3 separate regions of the Homo sapiens genome follow, and regions 2 and 3 are each linked to region 1. The links are contacts of gene promoters, found by promoter capture Hi-C in blood cells and fetal thymus (Javierre and others, 2016). All regions are on one chromosome and are shown on one strand. Each heading gives the region's core, a stretch centred on a gene start or on the middle of the fragment in contact. The rest is flanking DNA. Distances are from core to core; before and after follow the strand shown.

Region 1 (3,230 bases), core at 288-2,787:
CAGATGAGGATTAAGGGACTTGCTCAACATCACACAGCTATAAGTGCTAGAGCTGGGACTTGAACCCAGGTGTCAGTACCAATGCTCCTGCTCTTATTCTCATTGCGGTCCAATTGTCAATACATTGTCAACCCCGGGAAATTCATTCAAAAGAAATGTGCCTGTTAACCCAAGTGATTGTGCTGTGAACATGAAGAGCTGAAGGGCTAGCTAGAACATAGAATCCGGTCTGCAGTCAGGACCTAGCACTGCTGTCTGCCCACAGATCTTCAAGTTCTTAAAAGTCTGTTGAGGAGCAGTTAGAAAAAAGATGGTACAATCCTTGCCTCTGCCCACTCACCTCTGAGGGTGGCAGGAAAAGGAGAGCCTGTGTTTAAAGGATTCTGGCTTCTCCTGCCAGCTCCCTGAACCCAATCTAAAGCAGCCCAGATCCCAGCCTCACCCTACCTTCTCTAAGGTCTGGACCCCAAGAAGGACATCATGGTGAAGATCAGCATCAGTCAGTCAGGATCTTAAATCTCAGATGTGGGCAGGAAGGCACATGCATCCTCCCAGCCAAAAGAGGTGACCTACCAAAAATCACTTCTCATCTTCCCCAGCCTTAGAACTGCCTCTGAATGAGAGGAACCACATTTTACTGAACGCATCTTCAGACCATAGCTTTATGCTAAGCATTTTACAGCATTTATCACACTTAACTCTTTCCAGAATTCTACAAAGCATTCTTGTACCCATTTTCCAGATGAGGAAAATGAAGCCCAGAAAAATTGAATGTCTTGTCTGAGATCACCCAGGGACAGAGCCTGGATTTGAACTTAGGTCAAGCCCACTACAAAGAGTACACATGCTTAACCACCACACTGTAACCTTCCCACTTGGGACTGTTCCAACCCAGCAAACAAGTCCCTTTAGAGAAACCCAACTCTCTGCCTAAGACAGCTCTTAGAACTACCTTAAAGAAGTTCCTTTTGGCAAGAAGATAGAAAGCCTCGATGGGATTGGGGTCGTCTGATTTCCAAGGCCCCTTCAGAGGATCAAAAAGTGGTGCCAGAAACCTTCACAGTTTCAGTCTTGTGTTTCCCTGCCTGGCTCGAAACTGCTCAGCAAAGAGAATGAGAAAAACTATTTTCCCAGGGAAACACTCACCTCTAGCTTGAGACTGGGGCTTGCCTTGACACGCCAAAGTAAGATCGTCAGCCCATTCATTTACCCTTACAAATTGCTCTGTGAATCCCGGTGCCGGCCTCCCCGCTCTTCCCCCTCCAGGAAACCCCATCCAGCCTCCACGCTCTGAGAGCGGCAGGTATCCACCGATGTTTACTCACTCAAGTTCATTCGACATCTTCCTGCTCCCAAGCTCCGACGATCAGCACTGAGGCTCTGCTGACCGCTTGTCTCTAATTCTTGCCTGACACAGACATTCTCTGCCCGGGAAAGTGTTTGATTTATGTTGAGGTTTGGGTGTCGAGATTTTGCTGACAGGTAGGTTCCCAGCAGCGCTGGCGCTGATTGGCTACAGGTACAGGTGCCGGCGACTGGAGGTATACCTCAACAGGTGCAGCTGTTAACTCTTAGCCCGCCGAGGAGGGCGGAGCTATGGGGGACTGGCTGGGTGGAGCTGGCCAATTCCTTCCTTGGTGAGGGGGTGGGGGGTGGAGATGAGGGAGGAGGGATGGAGAAGAAAATGTTGGAAAGAAGCAAGATAACTAGAGGAAAAGTACAGGGACAAACAGATAACTTGGCTTAAAGGAAAACTTGATTCCTGTTTCTAGTCATTGTCCCAGATACCCAGAAACATCCCCACCCCCAAATTTCTTTGCCCCCTCCTTCTGTACCACTGGGGAATTCTCAAAGGAGAGAGCAACTTTTCCCAGGTAGATCTTTGTATAAGTTCCCTTTTTTTCAGTTTCCCCTTTAAGGTAATATTTTTGAATAATCTTTTGCAGTTACTCAAGTGACTTCTTTTGGTTCTTAAAGTAACCTACCGTGGTAGATTTATTATCGCTTCCCCCTTCCTCTTCAACACATATTTTACAGATGAGGGAGGAAATGGAGGCCAGAGAGGCAAAGTGCCTTGCCCAAGGGCACAGCTAGCGAGGTCCCAGCCCAGATCCAATCTGCAGTCATCTCACTCCAAGTCTGGCTGCCCCTTGGGCTGAAGTCAGTGGCCTCAATTCAGTAGACATTCATTGAGCACCCGTTGTGTGCCAGACCCTACTCTGGGTTCTGGAGAAACTGAGGCCAGAAAAAACAGGGGTTACTGTTCTAAAGGAGTTTACAATCTGGGGGGTGTGTGTTGGTGGCAGGGGGTGGGGGAGTAAAGGAGAACAGGCTTTTATTGGGTGTGAAGGGGGTGTGGGCAAGCCACATACCTCTGGTCAGCACAGAAGGGATAGAAAAGTTGAAGGCTCCTCTGAAGCCTCAGCCAGCTGGTCATTTCACAGGCTCCAAGTGCTTCGTTCTGTATTGGGAACTTGGGAGAAATTCAATGCCTGTCAGATGAAGTAATTGTGGAGTAATTGCTGTGAGCTGTCTACTATAAAGAACAAGCTTGGTAAACCCCAGAATATCCACAAACACAAACAGGAGAATGTAAGAGCTTTTTAAAGAGCTTCTTCCAGGATTAGTTTGAAATTAAATCTAAGCCAGAGATCTTGGCATCTTTTTTTCCCTCTCTCTCTTTCTATTCTCCCCTCCCCCACCCTTCCCCTTTTGGCAAATTATCTCTTTGCTGTGTCTTCCTGGAAACCTCAACTTGGCCCACTCCTCTCTCTCTTCTCTGGGAACGGCAAGTGAGGTTTCAGCTACCCCTGCCAATTTATGGAGGTTTTTCAGGGTAAAGTCAGAATTCAAAGGAGCCCTCTTGGGGTGGGGTCAGGGCTCTGGAGAGGGGGTACTGGGTTTGAGAACTCTCAGAGATTGGTTTCTCCCTGGAGGCTGTGTTGGGGGAAGCCCAGGGGACCCTAATAAATAATAGTAAATAATTGCTAATAAAGCCACCTCCTCAGAGCAGCCCTCTTCAGTCACCCTTGTTAATAAAGTAGACATTCAATCACTCTGGATCACACTACTTTTTGTTCTCTGCAGAGCCCTTATGACTTATGATACAATGTAATATGACCTATGATATTTTTCTAATCGTTTATTGTCTTTCTCCCCTTCCTCTGGAATGTAAATTCCATAAGAGCAAAGACTTTGTGTCGCTCACTGTGGAATCTCCAGTGTCTGGC
Region 2 (3,230 bases), core at 375-2,874, 500 kb before region 1:
GGCATGGTGGCAGGTGCCTGTAATCCCAGCTACTTGGGAGGCTGAAGCACAAGAATCACTTGAACCCAGGAGGCAGAGGTTGTAGTGAGCCAAGATTGTGCCACTGCACTCCAGCCTGGGTGACAGAGTGAGCCTCTGTCTCAAAAAAAACAAAACAAACAAAAAAAAACCAAATTGAGTAACTTCAGGTATAACTTGTCTTATTGTGCTTTGCTTTATTGAGCTTTGCTTCATTGTGCTTTGCAGATATTACGTTTTTTACAAATTGAAGGTTTATGGCACCCTGAGTCAAGCAAGATGGCGCCATTTTTCCCAGCAGCATGTGCTCACTTCATGTCTCTGTCACACTGTGGTATTTTTCGCAATATTTCAAAACTTTTCATTATTATTGTATCTGTTATGATGATCTGTGATTAGTGATCTCTGATGTTACTCTTGTAATTGTTTTGGGGGCACCACAAACCACACCCATATAAGACAGCACACTTAACTGATTAATATCATATGTGTTCTGACTGCTCCAGTGATTGCTGTTCCCCTGTCTTTCCCTCTCCTCAGGCCTTCCTGCTCCCTGAGACAAAATAATGTTGAAATTAGCCCACAGTTGATGACCCTACAATGACCTCTCAGTGTTCAGGTGAAGGGAAGAGTCACATATCTCTCACTTTAAATCAAAAGCTAGAAATGATTCTGCTTAGTGAGGAAAGCATGTCGAAAGCTGAGACAGGCCAAAAGCTGAGATAGGCTGAAAGCTAGACTTCTTCCACCAAACAGCCAAACAGCATATACAGAAGAAAAGTTCTTGAAGGAAATTTAATAGTGCTATTCCAGTGAACACACAAATGATAGAGAAAAACAGCTTTATTGCCAATAGGGAGAAAGTTTGAGTGGTCCAGATAATCAAACCAGCCACAGCATTCCCTTAAGCCAAAACCTAATCCAGATCAAGGCCCTAACTCACTTCAGTTCTATCAAGGCAGAGAGAGGTGACAAATCTACAGAAGAAAGTTTGAAGGTAGCAGAGGTTGGTTCGTGAGGTTTAAGGAAAGAGGCCATCTTTGTAACATAAAAGTAAAACATGAAGCAGCAAATGCTTATGCAGAAGCTGCATGCAGCCAGTTATCTAGAAGATCTAGCTGATCTATCTAGAAGATCTAGCTGATCTATCTAGAAGATCTAGCTGATCTATCTAGATCTTCCTTCATCACCTTCATCTGATGATCTATCTAGAAAATCTGATCTACCTTCAACAATGATCTATCTAGAATTGATCTTCTAGATAGATCATTGATGAAGGTGGCTACACTAAACAGATTTTTAATGCAGACAAAACCTTCTATTGAAAGATGTCATCTATGATTTTCATAGCTACAGAGAAAAAGTCAACGTCTGGTTTCAAATCTTCAAAGGACAGGCTGACTCTGTTAAGAGTCTAATCCAGCTGTTGACATTAGGTTGAAACCCATGCTCATCTTCCATTCCAAAATTTGAAGAACCCTTAAGAATTATACTGAAGCTACTCTACAGATGCTCTATAAATGGAACAATAAAGCCTGGATAATGGCACATCCATCTGTTCACAGTATGGTTTACTAAATATTTTAAGCCCACTGTTGAGACCCACTGCCCAGGAAAAAAAGATTCCTTTCTAAATATTACTGCTCATTGACAATGCACTAGTCCCCCCAGAACTCTGATAGAGATATACAGGGAGATCATGGTTGTTTTCATGCCTGCTAACACAACATCCATTCTGCAGTCCATAAATTTTGACTTTCAAGTCTTATTATTTAATAAACACATTTCATAAGGCCATAGAAAGTGATTCCTCTGATGGATCTGAGCAAAGCAAAGTGACCTGGAAAAGATTTACCTTTCTAGATGCAATTAAGAACATTCAGCCAGGTCTGGTGGCTCATACCACACCTGTAATCCCAGCACTTTGGGAGGCCGAGACGGGCGGATCATCTGAGGTCAGGAGTTCAAGACCAGCCTGGCCAAAATGGCAAAACCCCAACTCTACTAAAAAATACAAAAAAATTAGCTGGTCATGGCGGCAGGCACCTGTAATCCCAGCTACTCAGGAGGCTGAAGCAGGAGAATTGCTTGAACCTGGGAGGTGGAGGTTGCAGTGAGCCGAGATCGCATCACTGCACTCCAGCCTGGGCGATAAGAACGAAAACTCCGTCCAAAAAAAAAAAAAAAAAAAAAACACGAACATTCATGATTCATGGGAGGAGGTCAAAATAGCAACATTAACAGGAGTTTGGAGGAAGTGGATTCTAACCCTCATGGACGACATTCACAGGTTCAAGACATCAGTGGAGGGAGGAACTACATATGTGTTGAAAATAGCAAGAGAACTAGAATTAGAACTGGAGCCTGAAAATGTAATCAAATTGTTCTACCTTCATAATAAAATTTGAATGGATGAGGAGTTGCTTCTTATGATGAGCAAAGAAAATGGTTTCTTGAGATAGAATGTATACCTAGTGAAGATGCTAAGAACATTGTTGAAATGACAACAAGGAATTTAGAATATTACATCGACTTAGTTGTTAAAACAGCAGGAGGGTTTCAGAAGATGGATTCTAATTTTGAAAAAGGTTCTACTGTGGGTAAAAACACTATCAAACAGGGGTGCATGTTCTCAGGACCTCTTGAGATTAGCCTCAGGCAAAGAATATTTACTTTAAAATTTTTAAATGCTATCAAACACTATTGCATGTTACAGAGAAATCTTTCATGAAAGGAAGAGTCCATCAATGTAGAAAAATTCATTGTTATCTTACTTCAAGAAATTGCCACAGCCACCCCAACCAGCAATCACCATTCTGATCGGTCAGTAGCCAGCTACATCAAGGCAAGACCCTCCATCGGCAAAAAGATTGACTCGCTGAAGGCTCAGATAACCATTAGCATTTTTTAGCAATGATTTTTTTTTGAGACGGAGTTTTGCTTTTGTCACCCAGGCTGGAGTGCAGTGGCACGATCTTGGCTCACTACAACCTCTGCCTCCCTGGTTCAAGCAATTCTCCTGCCTCAGCCTCCCGAGTAGCTGGGATTACAGGTGCCTGCCACCACGCCCAGCTAATTTTTTTTGTATTTTTTAGTAGAGACGGGGTTTCTTCATGTTGGTCAGACTGGTCTCGAACTCCCAACCTCAGGTGATCCATCCGCCTCAGCCTCCCAAAGTGCTGGGATTACAGGCATGAGCCACCACACCCAGC
Region 3 (3,230 bases), core at 275-2,774, 310 kb before region 1:
ATAACAAGAGTCACTAGATGGCGTTCTACTCTCTCAGTATAATGTGCCTCTAATCGGGCAGGACTTGTTCCAAGACTAACTCAACTATCACAAGAGCATGTAGTTTGATTGGTTGTTTTTTACTGAGCCCTTCCTATATGCTTAGCATGGTGTTCTTAGATAGTAAGGGGCACAAAGGAAGTGTAAGTTAGTCCTTGGAGAGTTCATAATATTACCAGAAGAATAACAGCAACAGGCATCAGAGAAAAACGTAACATCTTTGCTTGTCATCCCATGGAAAGACCTCCACAGATGTTATATTCAAGTATTATGTTTGCTTTTTTTTTTTTTTTTTGGAGACAGAGTCTCGCTCTGTCACACAGGCTGGAGTGCAGTGGTGCGATATCAGCTCACTGCAACCTCCGCCTCCCGGGTTCAAGCAATTCTCCTGCCACAGCCTCCCGAGCAAAGCTGGGATTACAGGCATGCGGCATTATGCCAGGCTAATTTTTGTATTTTTATTAGAGATGGGGTTTCACCATGTTGGCCAGGCTGGTCTTGAACTCCTGACCTCAAGTGATATTCCCGTCTTGGCCTCCCAAAGTGCTGGGATTACAGACGTAAGCCACCGTGCCTGGCTGCATTTTTTTTCTTTTCTTTTTTTTTTTTAGATGGAGTCTCACTCTGTTGCCCAGGCTGGAGTGCAGTGGCATGATCTCGGCTCACTGCAACCTCCGGCTCCCGGGTTCAAGCAATTCTCTGACTTCAGCCTCCTAAGTAGTTGGGATTACAGGCATGTGCCAACACACTTGGCTAATTTTTGTATTTTTAGTAGAGATGGAGTTTTACCATGTTTGCTAGGCTGATCTCGAACTTTTGACCTTAAGTGATCCGCCCGCCTCAGCCTCCCAAACTGCCGAGATTACAGACGTGAGCCACTGTGCCCGGCCATGTTTGCATATATATATATTTTAGGTGGAGTCTTGCTCTGTCGCCAGGCTGGAGTGCAGTGGCACGATCTCGGCTCACTGCAACCTCTGCCTCCCAGGTTCAAGCAATTCTCCTGCCTCAGCCTCCCAAGTAGCTGGGACTACAGGCACACCACCACGGCTGGCTAATTTTTGTTATTTTTAGTAGAGACGGGGTTTCACCATGTTGGCCAGGATAGTCTCATCTCTCGACCTCGTGATCTGCCCATCTCGGCCTCCCAAAGTGCTGGGATTACAGGTGTGAGCAACCGCGCCCAGCCCATGTTTGCATATTTTTAAAACAAGAGCTGGAAGAATAAGAGCAGCACCCATCAGATGGGAAATGAAGAACCATGGTTGGAATTCCCTGTACCTGTCTATGTTCTCTCTGTATTTAGATGGCAGTACTTTTCTTTTATATGGGATTTCATAATAATAATTACCATTTTGGGGGGGTCATATTATGTCAGGCTTTGTGTTAATGCTTTAAACACTTTAGCTAATTCAGTCTTCACAATAATATCTAGCAGATTGTTACAGGCTGAATTGTCTCCCCCTCCCAACCCCTGGCCGAATTGTCTCCCCCTCTCAACCCCTGCCCTGTCCCTTCACCATCTCCAAATTCATATTGAGGTCCTAACCTCCAGTACCTTGGAATGTGACTGTATTTGGAGATAGCGTCCTTAAAAAGGTAATTAAGTTAGAATGAGACCATTAGGTGGGTCCTTATCCAATATAATTGGAGTCCTTATAAGAAGGGGAAATTGGCTGGGCACAGTGACTCATGCCTGTAATCCCAGCACTTTGGGAGGCCGAGGTGAGCGGATCACTTGAGGTCAGGGGTTCGAGACCAGCCTGGCCAACATGGTGAAACCCCATCTCTACTAAAAACACAAAAATCAGCTGGGCGTAGTGGCAGGTGCCTGTCGTCCCCGCTACTTGGGAGGCTGCGGCAGGAGAATTGTTGAACCTAGGAGGCGGAGGTTGCAGTGAGCCAAGATCGTGCCACTGCACTCCAGCCTGGGTGACAGAGCAAGACCTATCTCAAAAATAAATAAATAAATAAAGAAGAAGAGGAAATTAAGATACAGACGCACACACAGAGGGAAGACCAAATTAAGACATAAGGAGCAGACGGCCACCTATAAGCCAAGGAGAGATGCTTCAGAAGAAAACAACCCTGCTGACACTTGATCTTGGACTTCCAGCCTCCAGAACAGTGATAAAATACACTTCTGTTGCTTAAGCCACCCAGTGTGTGATACTTTGTTATGGCAGCCCTAGCAAGCTAATACATCGGTATTATTCCTGTTTTACAGATGAGTACAGTAAGGCGTGAGAAAAAGTGAGTTGTGTAAAATCACACAGGCAACATACAACAGAACTTACTTTCAGGGTTTGGTCCATCTGCTTAGGGTTAAGACCACATTACCAGTTGCTTGACATTCATGTAGGTGTTAAAGCAAATGGCTGGAGGAGGGAATATAGACAGATCTTATCTTTCTGGTGAATGAGCAAACAAGCCTTTCTTCATCTGGCCAGTGACTGCCTCCCAGCTGGTTCCCAAATCCACAAGGTGAGAGGAAGGGAAAGCCAGTGAGGCCTGTGCCAATTTTCTTCACCTTCAGGCCCAGCAACACTTGGACAGCAGGGGTCATAGTGGTCAGTGATTAAAAATCATCCTTGACTTCATTTAAAAATAATCAATAGCTCTTGTTGCTCTAAGTGGCCTTTCTTTTTTCTCTTTACCTCCCACACCCAAATTCCCTAGCTAGGCAGGGTCCTTAACACATTGTCTTGTAAATGTAGGGCTGGCTAGAGACCATTCAGCATATATGATAAACAAGACTTCTCTTTTGACCCTGGAGAATTGTAGTCCAGTTACCCATGGGCAATAGATAAAGACCCTTAGGCTGGATAGGTATGAAGATGAAGTCTATGAGTCCATGAATTATTGAAGTCCAAGTTCCAGCCCATGAGGGTTGCTTACATTGCAGGGAGGGTCATCACCCCTTATCAAGTGGACAAATTGCGGCTATTTGCTTATATGTCAAACCTACAACCAGATAAGGGGGGGTGGTAGAACCAGGATGTGCAGCAATCATATCTAGAATCAACATATTCACTAATATGCATATAGCCAATATGCATATAGCAAGGATGTGAACAACACCACCCCTATGGAAACTATTCACAGAAAGGAAGCTCCCAACTACAGAAAAGAAGAAGGCTAAGCTTTCTTTTTTTTTTTTTTTTTTTTTTTTTTTTGAGACGGAGTCTCGC

What was found. Contacts are between HindIII fragments. The CHiCAGO score rates a contact against its expected background, and 5 or more counts as called.
Region 2: a contact is called between a fragment that was not itself captured here and the fragment with the promoter of GRHL3 in region 1, in 1 of 17 cell types (naive CD8 T cells). The highest score is 5.4, in naive CD8 T cells.
Region 3: a contact is called between a fragment that was not itself captured here and the fragment with the promoter of GRHL3 in region 1, in 2 of 17 cell types (non-activated CD4 T cells and naive CD4 T cells). The highest score is 6.1, in non-activated CD4 T cells.

The regions. Positions count from the first base shown.
Region 1 is chr1:24,317,664-24,320,893 of GRCh38, reverse strand. It overlaps GRHL3 (grainyhead like transcription factor 3), which reads right to left and starts at 1,537. Exons shown (of 16, transcript NM_198173.3): 1 at 1,326-1,537. The coding sequence starts at 1,342. All of the region lies in intron 1 of GRHL3-AS1 (GRHL3 antisense RNA 1), which reads left to right. The HindIII fragment of the contact is 12,430 bases long and covers 1-2,552 here.
Region 2 is chr1:24,815,217-24,818,446 of GRCh38, reverse strand. All of the region lies in intron 3 of CLIC4 (chloride intracellular channel 4), which reads right to left. Among named protein-coding and RNA genes, the nearest start is that of CLIC4, 71 kb to the right of the region's middle. The HindIII fragment of the contact is 5,114 bases long and covers 1-3,230 here.
Region 3 is chr1:24,632,206-24,635,435 of GRCh38, reverse strand. No RefSeq gene overlaps it. Among named protein-coding and RNA genes, the nearest start is that of SRRM1, 9.5 kb to the left of the region's middle. The HindIII fragment of the contact is 3,320 bases long and covers 1-3,184 here.